Linked DNA regions of Homo sapiens: region 1 is linked to region 2. The links are contacts of gene promoters, found by promoter capture Hi-C in blood cells and fetal thymus (Javierre and others, 2016). All regions are on one chromosome and are shown on one strand. Each heading gives the region's core, a stretch centred on a gene start or on the middle of the fragment in contact. The rest is flanking DNA. Distances are from core to core; before and after follow the strand shown. Region 1 overlaps TNRC6B (trinucleotide repeat containing adaptor 6B). Region 2 holds the start of CACNA1I (calcium voltage-gated channel subunit alpha1 I).

The links. The method cuts DNA at HindIII sites, captures the fragments that hold promoters and counts their contacts. A CHiCAGO score of 5 or more calls a contact.
Region 1: a contact is called between a fragment that was not itself captured here and the fragment with the promoter of CACNA1I in region 2, in 1 of 17 cell types (erythroblasts). The highest score is 5.1, in erythroblasts.

Annotation. Positions count from the first base shown.
Region 1 is chr22:40,197,563-40,203,053 of GRCh38, reverse strand. The region is part of intron 1 of TNRC6B (trinucleotide repeat containing adaptor 6B); the gene reads right to left. Among named protein-coding and RNA genes, the nearest start is that of TNRC6B, 22 kb to the right of the region's middle. The HindIII fragment of the contact is 1,470 bases long and covers 3,366-4,835 here.
Region 2 is chr22:39,567,283-39,572,530 of GRCh38, reverse strand. CACNA1I (calcium voltage-gated channel subunit alpha1 I) reads right to left here and starts at 1,778. Exons shown (of 37, transcript NM_021096.4): 1 at 1,543-1,778. The coding sequence starts at 1,778. The HindIII fragment of the contact is 9,228 bases long and covers 864-5,248 here.

The DNA of each region.
Region 1 (5,491 bases), core at 2,851-5,350, 630 kb before region 2:
AATGCAACCTGCAAGGCTGAAGCCCATTCAACACAGAACTTGGCCTTATCATAGTCTAAGACAATGGCCTGAAGTCCTCCTCACTAAATTCAGTGTGTTAGATCAAACATTAGTGAAAACCTGGGCGAGAAGGAAAGGGCTAGCAAGAAAAGACAAAATGTGTGGAAATAAGACGGATGGAAGCAATGCTGACAAGCTGTAACTTTGGAGATACCCAGTAGTGCAGACTCTGAGGTAAACGGTCAAGAGCAGAGCTCCTTCCACCTGCAGTTATCCCCTCCACGCAGTCTACTCCTGGCCCTCTTCCAGCAGGCACTCGACACATGGACTCCTCTGATACACCTTCAAGGACTAGGGATCCCTGTGGCCAGGGACACAGAGGAAATATTTTGGTCTTCGTGAAGCTATGAAGGTGTTGATCCAACACTGTGGGCTATGTATTTCAAAACTGAGAAACAAGTCATTCGTTATCTTAAGACAACACATAAATCGGATTTATCTTAAAGAAAAGGGTTGTCTCTTTCTGAAAGATGGACTCCTTTTTGCTTCACAGTTTTCAAGCACATCTCCTGTCCTACATGCGTTTATATATAGTTACAGCAGCAATGGTTTATTTACATTCCTCCACTGACTGCAGAAAACCACAATCTATTTGTAATTATAATACCCTAAAAATAAGTTATTTGATTCTTTCAAATGTGAAAAGTAACAAGTGGCAACATTCTTGTTAAAAACTCATATAGAAAGTTGGTCATTTGCAAAACAGGTCTGCCAAAGGCAAAAAAAAAAAAAACAAAAAAACAACAACAACACATACACATTTAGAGGTTTTAAAAGCCTATTCTGGTTTTTCAAGCAGGGTATACAGAAACAAAACATCAAATTAAATGACTTTAACTCAACTAGAAGTAGGAATTAATATTATTCCTTTCTCTGACATTCAAAGCTCATCAGGCAAAGTTCTCAAGACAGTATTTTCTTGGCTTACACTACTTGAGACAAAAGTATTTCCTAGTGATTAACATTACGTGACCCTTTCAAACCTGAGCAAAGCTCGCCTAACTATTCTAAAATGGTATTACAAATTGAGTATTCCTTATTGAAATGTCTGGGAACAGAAGTGTTTCAAACTTTTTCGGATTCTGAAATAGTTGCATGAAATTTACTGGTTGAGCATCCTGAATCTGAAAATCTGAAATCCGAAATACTCCAATGAGCACTCTCAGTATCGTGCTGGTGCTCAAAAAGTTTCAGATTTTGGAGCATTTTGGGTTGTAGAGCATTTTGGATTTTCAGATTCGGGATTCTCAACCTGTATTTGAAAATGGAGGCTGGGTGTGGTGGCTCACAACTCTAATCCCAGCTACTCAAGAGGCCGAGGTGGGAGGATCGCTTGAGTCCCACCAGCCTGGGCAACACAGCGAGACCCTGTCTCTTCAAAAAATAAAAAATTAGCCAGGTGTAGTAGAGTACGCCTGTAGTCCCAGCTACTCAGGAGGCTGAAGTGGGAAGATCACTTGAGTCCAGGAGGTCGAGGCTGCAGTGAGCCATGATCATGCCACTGCACTACAGCCTGGGTGACAGAGTGAGACCCTGTCTCAAAAAAAAAACAAAAAAGAAAAAGAAAAAGAAAATGCACCAAACACCACATAAAAACAACTTTAGTAGGCCAACCCTTGAGCAGAGAAAAATCTGAAAATAAGCCAGTATTTATCTCATACTGCTCAAGTTCCAGCCCTATATGGCACAGACTTTCAGAGACATGTTCCCTATTCTCCATCTAGTTTTTCACAGCACTCTAACAAAGCCACTAAAAGCAAAACTTCACAACAGAAAGGTAGCCAAATTTTTTTTAAAGATTCTAAAGTGTAAGTGTGCAAAAATGTATACAAGGCAATTTTTAGATTTATAAAAGTACGAATGATAACCTAAACGTCCCTCAGTGGGAGCTACCATTTACCAGGTGCTTGCCATGTGCCACCCACAAGTATAGCACCCTACGTGTATCACCACGTGTGATGCTCACAACAGCTCTGTTAAATGGGGATGAGACACATCTCCAGCCTGCAGATAAGGAGGCGGAGGCACAGTGAAGTTGAGTAAGATTTCAGCACAGTTGCTGGCAGGGCTGGGATACGAATATAGAGCTTGAGCTCCCACCACCATCACATTCCACTGCCTCTCATGAGAGGGAACTTAAAGAAATGATGGCTTCTCCAAATAACACAAGGCCATGCAGCTCTAGTGGCAGGGGTTTTGACTGATGACCATTGTAATTCCCAGGAATACAGTGTGCCTGTGCCTAGCATATCATAAATACTCAATATGACCTACAACATATATTACATATACATTCATACATACATAAATAAAATGCTTAAAAGGGGAGGCTAAAATAAGAAATAGGGAACATTTAATTTTATGTACTTCTCATGATTTAAATTTTAGGCAAGAATATTACTTTTTAGCCGGGCGCGGTGGCTCACGCCTGTAATCCCAGCACTTTGGGAGGCCGAGGCGGGCAGATCACCTGAGGTCAGGAGTTAGAGACCAGCCTGGCTAACATGATGACACCCCGTCTCTACTAAAAATACAAAAAATTAGCTGGGCGTGGGGGTGCACGCCTGTAATCCCAGCTACTCGGGAGGCTGAGGCAGGAGAAACGCTTGAACCCGGCAGGCAGAGGTTGTAGTGAGCCGAGATCATGCCACTGTACTTCAGCTTGAGCAACAAGAGTGAAGCTCTTGTCTCAAAAAAAAAAAAAAAAAAAAAAAAGAATATTACTTTTTAAATTATTTTAAAATTTTGAAACAATCTCAAACTTATGTAAATTTGCAAGAATAGTACCAAGAACTGTCTCTCCCCAGAACCATTGAGGGGAAGTTGTCAACTTGAGGCCCTGTCACCCTGAATACTTTAGTATGTGTTTTCCCAAAAAACAAAACCAAATCACTAGGCCAGGGACTGTGGCTCACACCTGTAAACCCAGCACTTTGAGAGGCCGAGTCGGGCGGATCACTTGAAGTCAGGAGTTCAAGACCAGCCTGGCCAACATGGTGAAACCCAATCTCTATTAAAAATACAAAAATTAGTCGGGTATGGTGGCACATGCCTTAATCCCAGCTAGTAGGGAGGATGAGGCATCATGAGAATCGTTTGAACCCAGAAGGCGGAGGTTGCAGTGAGCTGAGATCGTGCCACTGCAGCACTCCAGCCTGGGCGACAGAGCCAGACTCTGTCTCAAAAGAAAAACAACAACAACAAAAACCAAACCACAGTCCTACATAACCATAATACAACCATCAAAATCAGAACATTAACGCTGATACATTTCTATCATTAAATCCTCAAGCCCCATGTAAGCTTCGTCACCTGTCCCAGCAATAGCCTTTATAGTAAAAAGATCGAGGTCAGAATCACATATTGCATTTAGTTGACATGTCTCTTTAGTCTCCTTCGGTTTAGAATCATTCTTTGGTCTTGCTTTGACTTTCATGACCCTGAAATTTTTGAGGATTACAGGCCAGTTATTTTGTAGAATGTCACTCCAACCAGGTTTGCCTATCATTTCCTCATAATTAGATTGAGGTCATGTGCCTTGGCAGGAACACTGCAGAGGGAATGGTGTGTTCTCTTTGCATCCTAGCAGGTGGCATGATTTCAATTTGTTCCACTGCTGGGATTACCTGGTTAAGGTGGCATCTGCCAGGCCTCTCCATTGGAAAGTTGCTCTTTTTCTCCTTTGTAATCATTAAGTATTTTTGAAGAAGTACTTTGAAATTTAGAGAACCCATTCTTCAAATGCTGAATTTACTGATAAGTCCGTACATAGGTTTTCTTACAAAGTAGGTGAAGCTGTGTGAGAACTCTTAGTTTTCTTTTTTACTCAGCAGGTTCTAATCCATGACTATCACTTCTTAAATTTTGAAATAAACTCAGATTTGGCCAGTGGGAACCGCTTCAAACTGACTCTGGGTCCTTTTGGCATGTTTTCATCACTCTTTGAAGACTTCTTTGCTTTCTAACCCAAGATGTTCCAGGCTCATGTTAAACATTCCTGCTCCAATCCTATAATCAGCCATTTCTCCAAGCAGCTGGGGTTCCTTTTAGTGGAAAATGGGATATAGAAGCCAAGATCTAGAAACCTGATACACTCACTGCTATTGGAATACTGCTGTTCCCAGGCACCCTCCCCCTCTACTACCAACAGAACTAGGAAACAGATGTGCGTATGTATGTGCACACACATATGCATATAAATACACATGCATGCATGCCTTTTGCAAAGATTTTATTGCTATTTTTATCGGTCCTTATTAAAATCCAGGCATTCACACCAATACTTCTGATTCCGATCTAGCATCACAGGGTTAATTCTAGCTGTCTCCTTTCCAATATCTGTAATGTTCTTCAACAGTGAGAGCTGCTGGGGGCCATTATCCTGAACATACTTATTTCATCAATCCTCCTATATTCAACCAATCAATACAGGAAGGGCATCCCAGAAGCAATGGATGCCCTTCTCACCTCTCCTGGGCTCTGACACAGCACACCAGACCCTCCCTCCTCATCCTACTCAGGCTCTGATACCCCTGGCCAGGCCAACACCTTGCTGAGCCCACTTAATAGCCTCTAGGACTGAACTGTTCAGGAAGGAAAAGAGAGAGAAAAGAAGAATGCTTTTAAAATTAAAAAGAATTAATGTAAAAATGTATTTTTTAAAGAATATCTGTTAAGTTAGAACTTGTAATAATTCAGACGGCCAAACTAAAATTCAACTTTGCATCATCTATGAAGAACAGGTTTGCTAAGTAAATTAATAGTGTAAACAAGCTTGTAACCCAGATATTTAACCTACTTAAGAAAACTAATTGTTTTCAAGCACTTTAAAATCACTGGGCATGTACTTGCCTTTAATTATTGTCTAATTACAAATGACTTCTATTTTCTTCGTTATAGCTTTGATAAGCCTTCTGATTATGCTTTAAGAATTACAACTTAAACTCAATACAGTTTAGATCCTTTAAAAATGTCTTTATTAATCAATTGGTTTTTCAATTAATCACCTGAAGTAAACTTTTTAACCATTCAGTGATTTTTCTTTTTTAGTTAATCTGTCATGTTGCTTAAAAAGAAAAAATGGGCCAGGCATGGTGGCTCATGTTTGTAATCCCAGCGCTTTGGGAGGCTGAGGTGGGAGAATCACTTGAGCCCAGGAGTTCAAGACCAGCCTGAGCAGCACAGGGAGACCCTGTCTCTGTTAAAAGAAGTTTTTTTTAATTAGCCAGGCACGGTGGCTCATGCCTGTAGTCCCAATTACTTGCGTGGCTGAGACAGGAGGATCTCAGCTTGAGCCCAGAAGGTCGAGGCTGCACTGAACTATGAATCGCACCACTGCACTCCAACCTGGGCAACAGAACAAGACTTGTCTCAAAAAAAAAAAAAAAGAAAAAGAAAAACGCCTTTCGGCTGGGTGCGGTGGCTCATGCTT
Region 2 (5,248 bases), core at 529-3,028:
AGCAGAGACCCGCTGGTTTCCAAAAGTTAGGGGGATCCAGGGCCCACGATCACCTCAGCCCCCTACAGAAGGGAAGCCTGGCAGTCCTGCAGCCAGTCTCAACATCCCAGCCTGCATCTGGCATCCCTGGATTCCAGGGCAGGACTCAGGCCTGCACCTGACCCACCAGCTCCCCGCACCCTGCCCTGTGTGGCCACAAGCACCAGAACCTCGAGCCACATATGGGCATTTTTTGGTGGGACCCTCAAACCACAAGGCCACCATGGCTTGGGTCCCCAAGCCTCCTCCTCAGTGGTCCCCAGCCCCCACTTCACCCTGCAAGCCAGTGCCACACAGTCCTTCCAGAGCACAGATCTCTCCAGACCCTGCTTCAAATCCTGCCCTTGGAGCACAGTCCCATCCCTCATGCAGCCTCCAAGGCCCTGCAGGGCTCCCGCCACACCTGCAGCCTCACCTCACTCCTCTCTGCCCCTCAGGGCTCCAACACTGCCTGCAACTCCTCCCTTCTCCAGGCTTCGCTCCTGCCATGCCCTCCTCCTGCCTCCCACTACCCTCTCTACCCAACCAACGCTCTTCCTTATTGAGGAGTCAGCTCTGGCATTGCCCATGTACACCCAGCAAACACTGCCAGAGCACCCACGATGTGCCAAGCACTGTGCCAGGTGCTAGGGTCCCCATCCCAGTCATCTGACAGTACCCCAGGGGAGGCAAATGTTAGATTCAGAATTCCACAGTTAGATGTGACAGTTAGATATGAAGCAGAGGAGGAATCCCAGAGGGCTTCCCTGAGGAGGTGATGCTTAAGCTGGGATTTTAAGGATGTAGCAAAGGATTTGGCCAGGTCCAGGGGGAAGGGAAAAGCTTTTCAGACAGGGGGAAGAGCCAGTGAGAGGACCCTGAGGCTCAGAAGAGCACAGGGGGGAAGCCAAGTGGTGGGAAGTGAGGCTGGGTGGAACACACAGGCCCTGATGGGTTGGATTAGGACTTTGCTCTGCACCTCCAGGACCATAGCAAATCATGACAGTCTTAAGCAGGGGGAACATGAGCCCACTGGAGGCAGCAAGTGGAGGCAGGAGGCCTGGGAAGAGGCTGCTCGGAGGCACAGTAAGGAGAATGAGTCCTGCCCTGTGTGTTGGGATCGGCTGCCCCGCTGCCCACGCCCACAGTTCCTGATCACGGCTCCCATCCTCTGTATGGTCACGGCCCATCAGGTGGCTCCAGAGTCTGACTGATCTGCATTCCCAGCCCAGCACAGGTCTGGGGCCCACACTCAAGGACTTTCTGAGCCAGCCAGCCACTGGACTGACCCCACAGCCACCAGCAACTTCCAGAACCTTCACATCAGCAGAACACCAGGTCCTCATCCATTTGAGGTCTCCCCAGACCCACCCTCTGAGCTCGCTCACCACCACCAAGGCCCAGTGGCCTCACCGCAGACCTCAGGTCTCCCAGCCGGAGCAAGGTGTGAGCAGCAGGACTCAATCCAGCCCCCCACCCTTCAGCCCCTGCAGGGCCCCGATCAGCCGAGGCTGCGGAGGATATGGGTTGCACACCATCTTGATGCACCAGTTCCGGGGGCTGGTGGTCTGTCGCAGGCAGAAGAAGGCAATAGGCGCCAGGTCTGGGTGTGGGACATGAGGATCAGCTCCATCCAGAGGCTCCTCCAGGCCTGGCGGGGAGGATGGGGGGCTCCGGGGTCCGGGCTGCTCCGTGGTGACTCCTGGCTCAGCGGCTGGGGCTGCTGCAGATGAGGAGGGCGGGGAGGCGCTCTCAGCCATGTCCACACTGAGCTGGGAGCCCTGGGGAAGACAGAGAGGGTGGCACGTGGTGGGGACAGGCCTGGTACATGCTCCCCAACCTGCCTCTCCACCAATAAGTGGACGGATGCAGCTCTGACAGCCCCACCTGAGCCCCACAGGCCCCTCACCCTCACTCTTGCATGAGGATTACGAAACAGCTGAGGGCCCAGCTGCACCCAACTTGGAATCTGCTTCCAAGCTGGGTGATCATGGGGCAAGTCTGCTCACCCTGGCTGAGCCTCAGTTTTGGCAAACGAAGATAGTGGGGAGAATAAAGCCTTCTTAGAATATAATTGTGATATTAACTCTTTTTTTTTTGTCTATTGGCAATTTTCTGTATTTGAAATCTTTCATTATTTAAGAGAAAAAATGTTTAAGTAATTATAGACAGAAAAGAAAGACGGAAGGGAGGGAGAGAGGGAGAGAGGGAGGGAGGGAGGGAAGAAAGGAAGGAAGGAAGGAAGGAAGGAAGGAAGGAAGGAAGGGATCTTAACTTTTTTACAAGACTAGAGCTATGTATTTATTGCACCATCAAAGGTAAAGAAAACTTGCAAGAAAAAAGAGGTGATTGTAAAGACAGACATTATTGCCAGGACAATGCAGGTTACAAAGGCAATGTTGGGGTGCTGCAGAATCAGAGACTGGGGGAACGCTGGCAAGCCAGGAGGGAATCACAGTTGGCTTCCCTGAGGAAGTAACCCCTGAGCTGAGACCTACAGCTGAGCCCTTGACCCAGGGACCTCCCAGCCACTGCCTTACAAGGCTGAGAACCCAGGAATCTTAGAGTCTAACCTCCTTGCCTTACAGATGAAGAAACCGAGGCCCAGAGAAGGGACAGGACAGACATGTAGCAGAGTAACAGCAGAAATAGAATTCCAGTCAAAGGCCAGGCACGTGACTCACACCTGTAATCCCAGCACTTTGGGAGGCCAAGGTGGGTGGATCACCTGAGGTCAGGAGTTTGAGGCCAACCTGGCCAACATAGTGAGACCTCATCTGTACTAAAAATACAAAAATTAGCTGGGTGTGGTGGCACACGCTGTAATCTCAGCTACTCGGGAAGCTGAGGCATGAGAATCACTTGAACCCGGGAGGTGGAGGTTGCAGTGAGCCAAGATCACACCACTGCATTCCAGCCTGGGCAACAGAGCAAGACTCTGTCACCAAAAAAAAAAAAAAAAAAGAATTCCGGTCAGAGCCCGCTTCCTGGGTCTGTGGCTCAGGCAGCTGCACAGGGCCCCGTGCTCAGAAGGGCCCTGAACTTGCTTTAGAATTCTTCTGTCACCAACATGAAATTCTTAATTGCTTATCAAGAGGTCCCACATTTTCATTTTGTTCTAGGTGATGCAAATCATCTTGCTGGCTCCGACTCCAACTCAAAGCACTTCTACTCCCTGGCCTTGTCTGATGCTCACAACAACCTCAGGAGGACTATTATGCCCATTTGGCAGGTGAAGAAACTGAGGCCAAGAGAACAAAGCGGGTTGTCAAGGCTATGCACCCAGCCAAGTGAAGCACTAGGTGGTGTTGAGAGGCCAGAATCCCAGCACCAGACCCCCAGGCGGGCTTCATGACAACTGATGGTGCCCTCGCTGGCCGAGAGCCTCCGCAACCAGTCAATGGCAAGATGGGACGGACAGCCACTCCCAGGGCCTGCCCCTCACCACCTCACCCCAAAGGGTACTAGTCCCTAAAACTTTGTCCACTGGGGTCCCTGGGATCCTAGAACCCCTACAGGGCCAGTCTGAGCCGTGGGATTGAGAGATGGGGTCCACGTCCCTGGTGCCCACCCAGCTGCTGCTGGGCTGTCGACCAAGCCACCCGGAGCTGATGCATTTGGACATTTCTCTGGCTCCCGGGGGCAACGGGCAGGGGTTGGCACCTCCTGCCACTTCCCCTGGCTGGTCAGGGAGGCGGAGTTTTCTCCTGAGCTCAGGGCTTTGCTCTTGATTCCAGAAAAACAGCCACGGGCCTTACATAAGCTCCCAGGCACCTTGGCCTGCCACGTGTCAACCTCCTGGGCTGAAACGCACCCTCCCTAGGGTGGTTCCAGCTCTGCCCACCACCGTGCCAGCCTCGGAGCCCACCACTCCCTCCCCTGGCCATTTGCTCTGGCCAGATTGGACCTCCTCAGGTCCTAGGCCCTGCTCCCGCTCTTCCCTCTCACTGGGGCACCTTCTCCTTCCGCCCAGGCCCTGTTCTCCCAGGCCCTACTGATTCATTCATTTGCCCAATGAGCACCTACTATGTGTGGGCACTGTGTGGGCTTCGGGCTATGCTGGGGCACGAGCCAGACTCAGCACCAGCCCCCATTCAGCCCACACTTCCGCAGAGGAGAGAGACACACCGATCAATTAATTTCTCTCTTTCTGCTTTTCCACAACTCTTATCACCATCAAACACGGTGCATAATTTATGTCTTTATATCTCCATGATTTGGTGTCTGTCTCCCCAGCCTAAGAGAAGCCTGTAAGGGAGGTGTATCCCCTCACTGCTGTATCCCCAGCACCTGGAATGGTGCCTGGAGCATACTAGGTGCTCAATCGATATTTGTTGACTCAGTGAATAAAAAGTGCTGGGAAGTAAATAAACAAGGGGAAAGGTGGGAGTGGAGACAATCATCTTGCCCTCTCTAAAGGAAGAGATGTTTAAGTGAAAACCAAGACGCGGGAGGCCGCAGCCCTGACTGATCTGCTGGAAGAGCACAGGAGGAAGAGCACGTGCGAAGGCCAGGAGAATGGGGCCCGCTCGGTGCATTTAAGGAACACAAGCGAGGCCGAGCCTCGGGCAGGGAGGCGGATGAAACCAAAGAGTTCAGCAGGGCCCTGGGGGAGAACACAGAGGAGCGTGGGTTTTATCCCAAGTTCAGTAGAAGCCACAGGTGGGTTTTAGGCAGGGGAGTGGTGTGCTCTGGTCTGTTTCTAAGCCATCTCTCCAGGGGCTGAAGGGAGAGTGGATGAAGGGGAAGGGGTGGAGCAGGAAGGGCTGGGAGGAGCTGGGCTGGCCTGCCCTTGGCTGCTGGTGAAGACAGGGAGAAGGCGGTGGATTGAGATTTATTCTCGAGGTAAAGCACCTGGTCTCGCAGCAACTGCAGTGGCCCACCTGCAACCCTCGCCCCAGCATTACCGAAGTCCTTCCTGAAACCACACAGGTGGAAAGAGCTCCCCCGGCCTCCGGGACTGCACAAAACTACCCACTTCCTGCCTCTGGGCTACGTCGCTTGCACTGACTTGCTTGTTGCCTCTCTTGGCTTGTTTAATGCCGCCACACTGTGCTGCCCTCTGTGCTCACACCTCTCCCCTCACTGTGGTGCTCCCAGAAACCACACCCCTAAGGCCACCACCCTCAACTCTCTCCCCAGTGTCCACCCAGCCTCCACCCTCTGACCTGCTCCCAGCGGCCACCCAGCCTCCACCCTCTGACCTGTTCCAGTGACCACCCAGCCTCCA